Regions from separate parts of the Homo sapiens genome. Here region 2 is linked to region 1. The links are contacts of gene promoters, found by promoter capture Hi-C in blood cells and fetal thymus (Javierre and others, 2016). All regions are on one chromosome and are shown on one strand. Each heading gives the region's core, a stretch centred on a gene start or on the middle of the fragment in contact. The rest is flanking DNA. Distances are from core to core; before and after follow the strand shown.

Region 1 (4,497 bases), core at 166-2,665:
TTATTTCTTTGGTATTTCTTGAGTGCTTGCTATGTGCCTGGCACTGAGCTAGGCACTGGGGATATAATGTTGGGCAAAGCAATCTCTGCCCTTGGGGAGCCAGCCTGTTTACGATCACTGAACCAAACCAATGCCTGACAACTCTCAGAGCTGTGAGGGAGGAAAAGAAAGAGTGCAGTCATATTTGAAGAGCTCCTCCTCCCAATCAAGTCCAAATTCCTCCGCATAGCCATCCAGGACTTCTCCCTGTCCCCTGCCACTCCCTCTGCTCTTTCAAATGTTGCCTGCATGTGCTTCCACGTCTTTACTCACGCCATTTCCCAAACTGTTATCAAAACTCTAGTCCTCCTTCCTGGCTCAACTCAAATGCCATCTCCACTGAGAAGGTATCTCCTGGTCAGAATTAGAATTAGTTGTTTTTTCCTTCCTGATGCATCCTGTGTAGTGCCTGTAATTGTATCTAGCAGCTATTACATTTTATTGTGTATTTAGGTAAGCTGCTTGCCTGTCTTTCTCCTGTGAGGAGTAGGAGGATGATTTTTTTTTGAGACAGGGTCTTGTTCTGTCACCCAGGCTGGGGTGCAGTGGCACAATCACAGCTCACTGCAGCCTCAGTCTCCTGGGCTCAAGTGATATTCCCACCTTACCCCTGCAAGCAGCTGGGACCACAGGCGCGCACTACCACACCCAGCTAATTTTTTGTATTTTTGGTAGAGATGAAGTCTCACTATGTTGCCCAGGCTGGTCTTGAACTCCTGAGCTCAAGCAATCCTCCTGCCTCGGCCTCCCAAAATGCTGGGATTACAGGCATGAGCCACTGCTCCTGGCCTTGAAAATCCTTAAAGGCCACTCTCAGTCTCCAGTTCCTAACAGATGCTCAGTAATGTTAATTGCCTTGAACTCAATCAAGCTTGTTTCAGTGGATGAATAAACCTACCAGCAGCAGGGGTGGGGGATAATGTGAGTAGGACAAAGTGGAGGCAAGAGAGGAGGGAAGAAAGAAATGAGTGAAGTGGGGCACTGGATGCTATACTTTCCAGCTAGTGCCACCATCTTTTTGCAGGGAGGGGTGCATTGAAAGATCCCAAGCAGCTGAAGCAAGAGAATGAGAGCAGGGGAATGCCCCGATGAGTGCTCACATGGAATTTCCCAGTGGGGAAAGGGGCGCTTCCCAGCTCCTAGAATCCTGCTCATTCCCAAGTGTTTTCCCTCCACTTTTCCAGGGAGCCAGGGAATGGGCTATAGGGAGTTGGGAATCTGGTTTTCACTCTTGGCTGAAGCTGGCCATGTCTACTCTCATGCGTAGTTTAGCTCTGAATGAGTCACACTTGTTTATTCATTCAACATGTATTTACATGATAATTGGGTACACAGCACTAGGCAATTAATTGGAGAGCTTACAATAAGAACAGGCAGCCCAGGACATGCTCATAAATAACCATCAGCACTACAAGAAAGACGTACCAAATGTGATTTGGAGGCGCAAGGTGCACAGGAATGAAGGACAAAGGACATCAAGGGCCCTGCTGGACTTGGAACCCAGGCCTGCTGGAGCAGAGATCACATCACATTGCCAAGTTCATTATTCAGATTCACAATTGGGGTAATGTGTTTCCCTTTTGTTCACTCATTCATTCACTCAACAGATGGTACTTGGGAACAGACTTGCGTATGCAACTGAGTTATTCATTCATCATAGTGACTGTGCACAGCAGGGGCCTTTATAAGTGAGTGGAAAATCTGCAACTCTAAACCACTAACAAACCGTTCTGACTCAGGGACCATCAAACGCGGGAGTATTAGGCAGGGCCTCTGCCTTGAAGAAGGCCCTGGATTTCTGAGTCAGCTTTCTTCCTACTCCTTCGGTACATCCCTGGAGGTAGATCATGCTTGCTTGCACTGAAGCACAGCTATATGTAAGCACAGTGATGAAAACTGGGGGGAGATCTTCACAATTTCTTCATTAGTTTAGACTGCACTAACTCAGAAATTGCAACAACTGATAGCTGCTGGGCATTGAAGGCCACATTTGTCCCACTTGGAAGAAGGAAAGAAGGAAGGGAGGGAGGCAGGGAAAGAGGGGAGGAAAGGTAGGGAGGGAGGAGAGGGAGGAAGGGAGGGAAGGAAGGGAGTTGCTAATTATTAGGATAAACAAGGAAATTCAGAACATTGATTGATTGGCCATGTTAAGTGCTCTTAAAAAAATCACTATATACAAGGAATGTGCTAATTACAGTATGAGCAAAGAATATCAGGATGTATCAGAGCCCCACCTTCTTGCTGCAGATGACATTTACCTATTCATGAAGCCCCAGAGAGCCTGCTGCCCACTCCCCTGACCTGGTGCGAGAGTGGCCTGCCAGGCTGCAGATCTTTGAAGGCCATAGATCTCTGAAAATGGTCTCCAAATTGGACTTTTCATTAAATCAGACTAAGTTTACCTTCCTCTTCTTCCTTGTTCTGTGCCCAGGGCCATCATGTCACATAATTAGCCTAGTTTCTAAGTATTAGCCATGGCTCATTCTTGAAATATCACCATTCCCATTTCCTAGCAGCCAGTTAGTGGCGCAGAAGGAGGGTTTACTAATACAGCAGGACCCAAGTAAAGCTTCTCTTCCCTTCCTGTTCCTTTTCCCAGTAGCCCCGTTTCTGGCATGATCAGAGTAACAGAGAAGAAAGCTCTGTGGATAGGGGCTTGCTGTGCTCTCCACGGTCAGCAGGCGGCCTGCCCTTCTCATGGGAGCTCCCTGAGCAGCTGCTTGCTTCTGACAGCCACCACTTTCTGTTGATTCCAAACTGAAGGGAGAAATTCAGTTTGGGGAATTTAGTGTCTAAGTTGCATTACAGAGCTACAACAAAAAGTGACAAGATTCCATGTTTACAGCGGTCTCCCACAAAGGGAGAGAAAAGGCTTCCTGATCTCATTCAGTGAAGATGGGCCATGACATGTTCCCACGCTCTAATGTGCCCCCTCTCTTTCAACCTGGTGCTAACCACCGGAAGGAGGGAAGCTGAAAGCTGATCCTACCCCACACCCACAACCACAGCAGGAGGCTCAGCATATTTTCCTTCTTTGGAATATATACCATACTGTAAATGATAAAGTTACACAATCATTGTAAAAAATCTGGAAAAAATCAGAAGTATATTGGGCTCACCACCCAGAGATAGCTAGTGTTAACATGTTGGCATGAGTTTTTCAAGTCTTTTCTCTTGCTTTGAGTATGTGTATATATGTGCTTGTATATATAAAGACAAAGATAACCAAGCTGTATCTTGCTTTTTCTATTTCTCATTACTTCAGATGAATTTCTCCATGTTATTAAACATTCTTTGTAATTTAATTGAAAGTGTTGTATAAGTGTGCTCCACGTAGATGGATTATACTTTATTTACCCTGTCTCAGCATTTTGGGGCATTTAGATTGTATCCAAATTTTTAGCTACTTGAAATAACACTTACATGAACATCTTGGTGCATAAGTTTGCATTTCTGATTATTTCCTTAGGATAGATTTTTAGCAGTGCAATTAGTGCACCCAAAAATGAATAGTTTTAAGGCTCTCACTATGTATTGCCAAACTGCTTTTCAGAAAGATTGTTCCAAGCTACTTCCTGCAATATATGAGAGCTGCTCTTATGCTAGCTTCCTTACTACATGGAAGATGGCATCTCACTGCTGAATAATTTATATTTGCCAGTGAGGGAAATTTTTTTTTTTAAAATCATAGAAATGGGGTCTTGCTGTGTTGCCCAGGCTGGTCTCGAACCCCTGCACTCAAATGATCTTCCTGTCTTGCAATCCCAAAGTGTTGGGATTACAGGTGTGAGCCATCGTGCTGGGACGGAAACATTTTACAGTGTAAGATGTTTATTATTTTATAGTGTGATAAAATGTTTATTAATCATTTGGATATCTTCTTTTGTGGGTTTCCTGCTTACATTAATTCCCGGTTAATCATTAACTTGGTATTTCAGATCACACAACTAAGGCACCTGCTGTCCTGTGTGGTGGCACACTTAACTTGGAGGCCAGCCTCTTACGTAAGGTAAGGAGACCTTAAAGTACAAACTGCAAGCCTAACTGTGCAGGTGATGAAAAAAAATGTCCACAACTCTTACAAAACAGGAAAGATGATTAGATATACATAAACCTTTGCTGTCTGTATTTGAAGAAATTAGAATCAGAGTGAAAAGAGTGCTCAGAGATAACTGAGTTCCTAACATATGAGGCCACTGAGACCCAAAGGAGTTCAGCTTCTTGTCCACACAGCTAATCAGGGGCACCACTGAACATGGACAGAGGTCTTTGGATTCCTGTTTCACAGCTGCTACTTGAGACAAGGGCTGAGGGGCTCAGAAATGTTAAACTAAAATGGAATAGCTGTACTATCATCTCAAATAGCCTCCTGAAATTACAATGCTAATCAAAAGGAATACAGAACTAGACTAGGAAATCCTGATTTATACAGATTTCAGAAATACACATGTGGTTGAC
Region 2 (4,971 bases), core at 1,128-3,627, 290 kb after region 1:
GAGTGCAGTGGCACCATCTTAGCTCACTGCAAACTCTGCCTCCCAGATTCAAGCCATTCTCCTGCCTCAGCCTCCCAAATAGCTGGAACTACAGGCACCTGCCACCACACTCGACTAATTTTATATTTTTAGTAGAGACAGTTTTCCCTATGTTGGGCAGGCTGGTCTCAAACTCTGACCTCAAGGGATCCGCCCACCTTGGCCTCCCAAAGTGCTGGGATTACAGGCATGAGTCACCGTGTCTGGTGAGTAACTTAAATTTACAAATTTTTTGTCCATTCCCCACACAGCAACACTGTCCTCGGTCAGCTCCTGCTGTTTTCTTTACAGCCAAGGTCTCTGCAGACAGCAGGCCCCCATGCTTTCGCCGCAATCTTCTGTTTCTGGTCTTTCTAAGAGGCTGCCTTCTTTTCTGCCCCTCACTTCCAGCTATCAAGATCACATAACCCTCAGCCCAATCGATCCAGCCAGTGCACCATCCCCTCCAAGCCTAGGCATCCTCCAAGCCTGTGCTGACACTGGATGCTTTCTGCCACACCCCGGGATGGGACAAGGCCCAAGGTTATTTTGAGGAGGGTGGGGATTTCCTGTGGTCGTCTGAGGACAGGTGGCATGGCTGTTCACTCAGGACAATTAAAGGCCTTTCTCCTCGTCTCACCCTTAGTATTTTCCTGGCGTTCTTATTGCCTGAGCATTCCCAGGACTGTCTCTCAAAGCACTAGAGTGCTGCCAAAGATGCATTCTTTTGTGTGCTTTCACAGGATCAGTGATAAAAATCAAAATGATTGGCATCTTGATAACATGCCAAGGCCTCATTTTGACTATGGAGACAACATGCCTCCCAGCAAGCTTTTTTGGCACTCTAGAAAATAACCTACCTTCCAGGTGCCCCACCAGGACCCCTTTTGTTCTGTGATTAGAGTCCTTGCTGGGCTACTGGCAGTCCTATCAGACTTCCTGAGGGTCAGTGGGCATGGGACAGAAGGCTGCTGGCCCTATCTCTCCAACCCCCCAAATACCCCAACCCCAATCTAGAGGTCAAGTGGCTGCAGGTTGGAGAAACTTGTTTAGAACCTGACAGAGCCCCCAGAGTCCCCTTGCGATGGCACTCCAGGCCCCTCTGAGCCACCACTGTTACCAATGCACTTTTCTATCCCGGGGGTAACATTTGTGATTTCCAGCCTACCTATAGGGCTGCCTTCTATGGTAGCCACTCTGGACTTAAATCATGATCCACACTGTGTAAGGATCTAGAACTGTGGTCTTGCTATTGTAGTACCTTGGAATCTTATTTCAGAATATTTATGATCCTCAGGAATTCCCTGGCTCAAGTTAATTCCATGTATTATTTGTTCTTGCAAGATAGATGCTGATTTTCTTACCATAGAATTTAACATTACGCCCTATCTTCCCTCCTGTGTTTCTAGATAACTCTGCAGCTGCTGAGGGAGGACTACACTAGAAAATAGTGATAATAATAAATATGATTATTATACAGTAATCATAATAAATATGATTACTAATAACGGTTCCCTTGGACTGGAGAGGGAAGAAGCAGAAGAAATAGAAGGAAAGGCAATAACTAAGAGGAGAGAAGGAAAAGAGAATTGAAACATCAGCTCTAAGAACAGAAAGATGATCCCCTTTCTCATCAGCCCCGCACTCGCACAAAATGAGAGACCCAAATGCTCCCACCGCAAGGCACAGGGGAGAATGGAGTGGGTGCCCTGGAGCTGGAGGCTGAGGCACGGGGAGAATGGAGAGCAGAACATGCACATGGAGGACCCTCCATGGGAAGACTCCAGGCAGGAGGGGCACATGGGCAGGAGCCTGCCTGGTGGCTGGGAGCAGGTTCTGCTGGCTTCTATCCTGCAGAGCTATCCCAAGGGGACTAGCTCCATCCTCTCTCCTTGGATCACTGAGTTCCAGTGTCTCACTCAGCCTGAAAGGCACATACCACCATGCCAGTGCAAGGCCATCACCATGTCCCTGAGAGGGGACCTGTGTTGGTTAACACTGTGCAGGTCCATCAGAGACTGAGAATGGATATTTTACCATACAGCATTGCCTGAAGTCATAGAATACCTTGCTAAGTAAAAAAGAAAGAAAAGACCACACATCTTCCTACTACCCAAAACTAAGCCCTGCAAACATTTTGGTGCATGTAGTTGCAGTTTTGTTTTACACGTGTGTGTGACCATAAGTAATTATTCAAATTAAAAAATGGAAATGGCCAGGCGTGGTGGCTCATGCCCGTAATCCCAGCACTTTGGGAGGCCAAAGCGGGTGGATCACCTGAGGTTAGGAGTTCGAGACCACCCTGGCCAACATGGTGAAACCCCATCTCTACTAAAAATGCAAAAATTAGCCCGGTGTGGTGGCAGGCACCTGTAATCCCAGCTACTCGGGAGGCTGAGGCAGGAGAATTGCTTGAACCCGGGAGGCAGAGGTTGCAGTGAGCTGAGATCACGCCATTGCACTCCAGCCTGGGAGACAAAAGCCAAACTCCATCTCAAAAAAAAAAGGAACTGTGTTGTGCATAACTGCTTTTAAAACTTGTATTTCTTTACTAGACCAGTGTTATATCATAGAAAAATTAGAAAATACCACTCATAAAACAAATGAATCAATATCTCCAATAACCCCCAGCACCCAAAAGTGAGCATGACTGATATTTATTGATGGGTATTCAAATGGATATATTATACATATTTTAACCCCAAACTGGGTACCTGCTTCTTAGCACCCTGCATTCCTGCACTCAGCAGCTCTTAGGCAGTTCCCTCCCTCTGCAGAAGGTCATAGAGGGCTTCTCACGGCAGGTGTGTGAAGGCTGTATTCTTGATGCGTGGGTCAGACATCAGCTGCACAGGATATTGAAATCTATCAAGGCCAAAGACCTAATGGAGATGGGGGAGGGAGGATTGGATCTGCTATATTTCCCTTCCCAAGTTTATCATCTCCAGACACATATCAAAACCAGACCGAACTTTCCGCCCCTCCTGGCAGAAACATCTCTGCTTTTGTGTCTGAGATTTCAGATGAGGCTGATAAGGAACAGAACACAACTTTAGAGGATGAACAACTCAATTCGTCTCAAGTCATAACTGCAAACGGCTTCGTATTTCCTGGGTTTATTTGATGTCTTTGGTCCGAAAATGAATTCTGAGATCCAATTAGCAGGAAGGATATTGCTCCCGTGTAATGCTGCTCCAAGAGCTGTCACAACATATGGCTGAGTTAAAGCTGCAGCCAGAACCCCTCTGAAGTCAGAACATCCAGAGGCTTGCCAGAGAGGAAAAGATCTCACCAGAGGTCGGGGAATCACCAAGGACAGGAACCACCCATGGGTCAAAATGTATTCGGCAGCTCTCACAGTCAGTGGAAAGTGTTAAGGTCTTCCAGAATGGATCGTGACTTAGACTGGGTTCCCTAGAAGCAGAGCCTGAGATGGAGAGTCTCATCCAAGCGATGAATTGGGGCATGCTTTCAGGAGAAGGGGAGTGAGGGAAGCAGAATGGGGCAGGGGAAGTAGCAAAGCAAGCACGTGGTCTCAGCTGATGTGGGCTTCAGCCTGACCCCAGGGGAACCTCTGGAGCAGGCCGTGCACCACAGTTGCTGCACCTTGAGACAAAGGGCTGGTCTTTTGTATTTCCACTTTAACCAATCACGGGTCAAATTCTAGGTAGAGGAGTCAGCACAGCCTCCCTGGCAGCTTCCGTTTAGCTGGGCCCAGCTCTCTAGAAGGGGAGGCAGCTGGGAGAAGTCTGCAGCCTACACTCAGAGCAGCTGTAAGAGGAATGTGGATGGGGTGCCTGCAGCATTCACTGCAGACCTCACAGTGTTCTTCAGTGCCATTCCCATCAATGGTGGAGTGGGGGGTGCCCAGAGGACATGAAGCTTAAATGTGCCCATCAAAGTTTCAACTCCCTCTCCGGCCAACAATGCTGACCACCAGGCCTTGCCAGTCTCGAGGAGATCTGGCTGGGTGGTCTTGTCTCTGGTGTCCTGCACTGGGGCCCACTGAGGTACAGCTGGCTTTGTCATGCCGGCCCTCCCTAATGAGGTCAGAAGTCCCTGCCATCTGTCATTGCGTGCAAAGTCCTGGTTCCCCAGTATGTGCATTATAAGGGAAGCCCCTCAGTATTAGGGAATTTGCTGAGGCCACCAGCAGGCTGGTAATAGCATGGGACAGGACCCCAGGACACCTGCTTGCAGTACCTGCCCTGCCATGCATGAGCTGTTTGGCTGCAGCTTGAGCTTCCGTCTCCTCCTCTACAGAACAAGGGGATTGGGGCAGGTAAGGCCCCAGTCCCTCGCAGGCCTGCAGTTTTGTGTTCAGGCTTTCCCTCCCCATCTTCCAGGCCAAGTCAGACCACATCCACCACAAAGACACTTCCCTCGAGGATTTTTCCAGCAGGTAGACTGAAACAGAGGCCAAGTCCTCTCATTTTTCTGAGTGACTTGAAGGGGAAACATGTACAAGTAAGAAAAGAGGATGCTTAAGATATCAGAATGTATTTTGCCCTGGATTGTCTAAATTGGCTGTTTGCGTGGCTCTAATAATCTATAAAATCATTATGATTTTTGCATTTTTCTATTCAAATGACCAGGGCCATGGAGTAAAGATTTTTTTTCAAGTCAATGAGGTAAACAAGAAAGAAGAAATGTTTCACATTTTAAAAATGATTTCTTTGTCAGTTAGCAATGAATATCATGCTCTAAAGTAAGGAAGAGAAGAAATTAGCATGGGTTGTAGATGCCAGGAACTTGACCTTCCAAATCCTCACAGCAATCTAATGAGGGCTGTGCCTCCAAAGTGCACAGTGGGGCAGCTAGGTTGTCCTCCCTGGGTGTGGGGAGAATCCTGGAATTTTACCATCTTGGTGTCTCAGAGATGTGCCCACACAGGCCTTCAAGAACTCTCTGTTGAATTGCATTATGAGCAAAAATTGTGTGTTCCTGTGGTTT

What was found. Contacts are between HindIII fragments. The CHiCAGO score rates a contact against its expected background, and 5 or more counts as called.
Region 2: a contact is called between a fragment that was not itself captured here and the fragment with the promoter of LARS2-AS1 in region 1, in 6 of 17 cell types (megakaryocytes, endothelial precursors, M0 macrophages and 3 more). The highest score is 13.3, in megakaryocytes.

What each region holds. Positions count from the first base shown.
Region 1 is chr3:45,506,463-45,510,959 of GRCh38, reverse strand. LARS2-AS1 (LARS2 antisense RNA 1) reads left to right here and starts at 1,415. Exons shown (of 4, transcript NR_048543.1): 1 at 1,415-1,603; 2 at 3,978-4,048. The region is part of intron 15 of LARS2 (leucyl-tRNA synthetase 2, mitochondrial); the gene reads right to left. RefSeq lists a silencer at 1,049-1,343 and an enhancer at 2,170-3,036. The HindIII fragment of the contact is 1,698 bases long and covers 913-2,610 here.
Region 2 is chr3:45,214,463-45,219,433 of GRCh38, reverse strand. LOC101928636 (a long non-coding RNA gene) reads right to left here. Exons shown (of 4, transcript XR_001740675.2): 4 at 2,660-4,971. Among named protein-coding and RNA genes, the nearest start is that of TMEM158, 9.3 kb to the left of the region's middle. RefSeq lists enhancers at 3,349-3,849, 3,850-4,350. The HindIII fragment of the contact is 3,051 bases long and covers 852-3,902 here.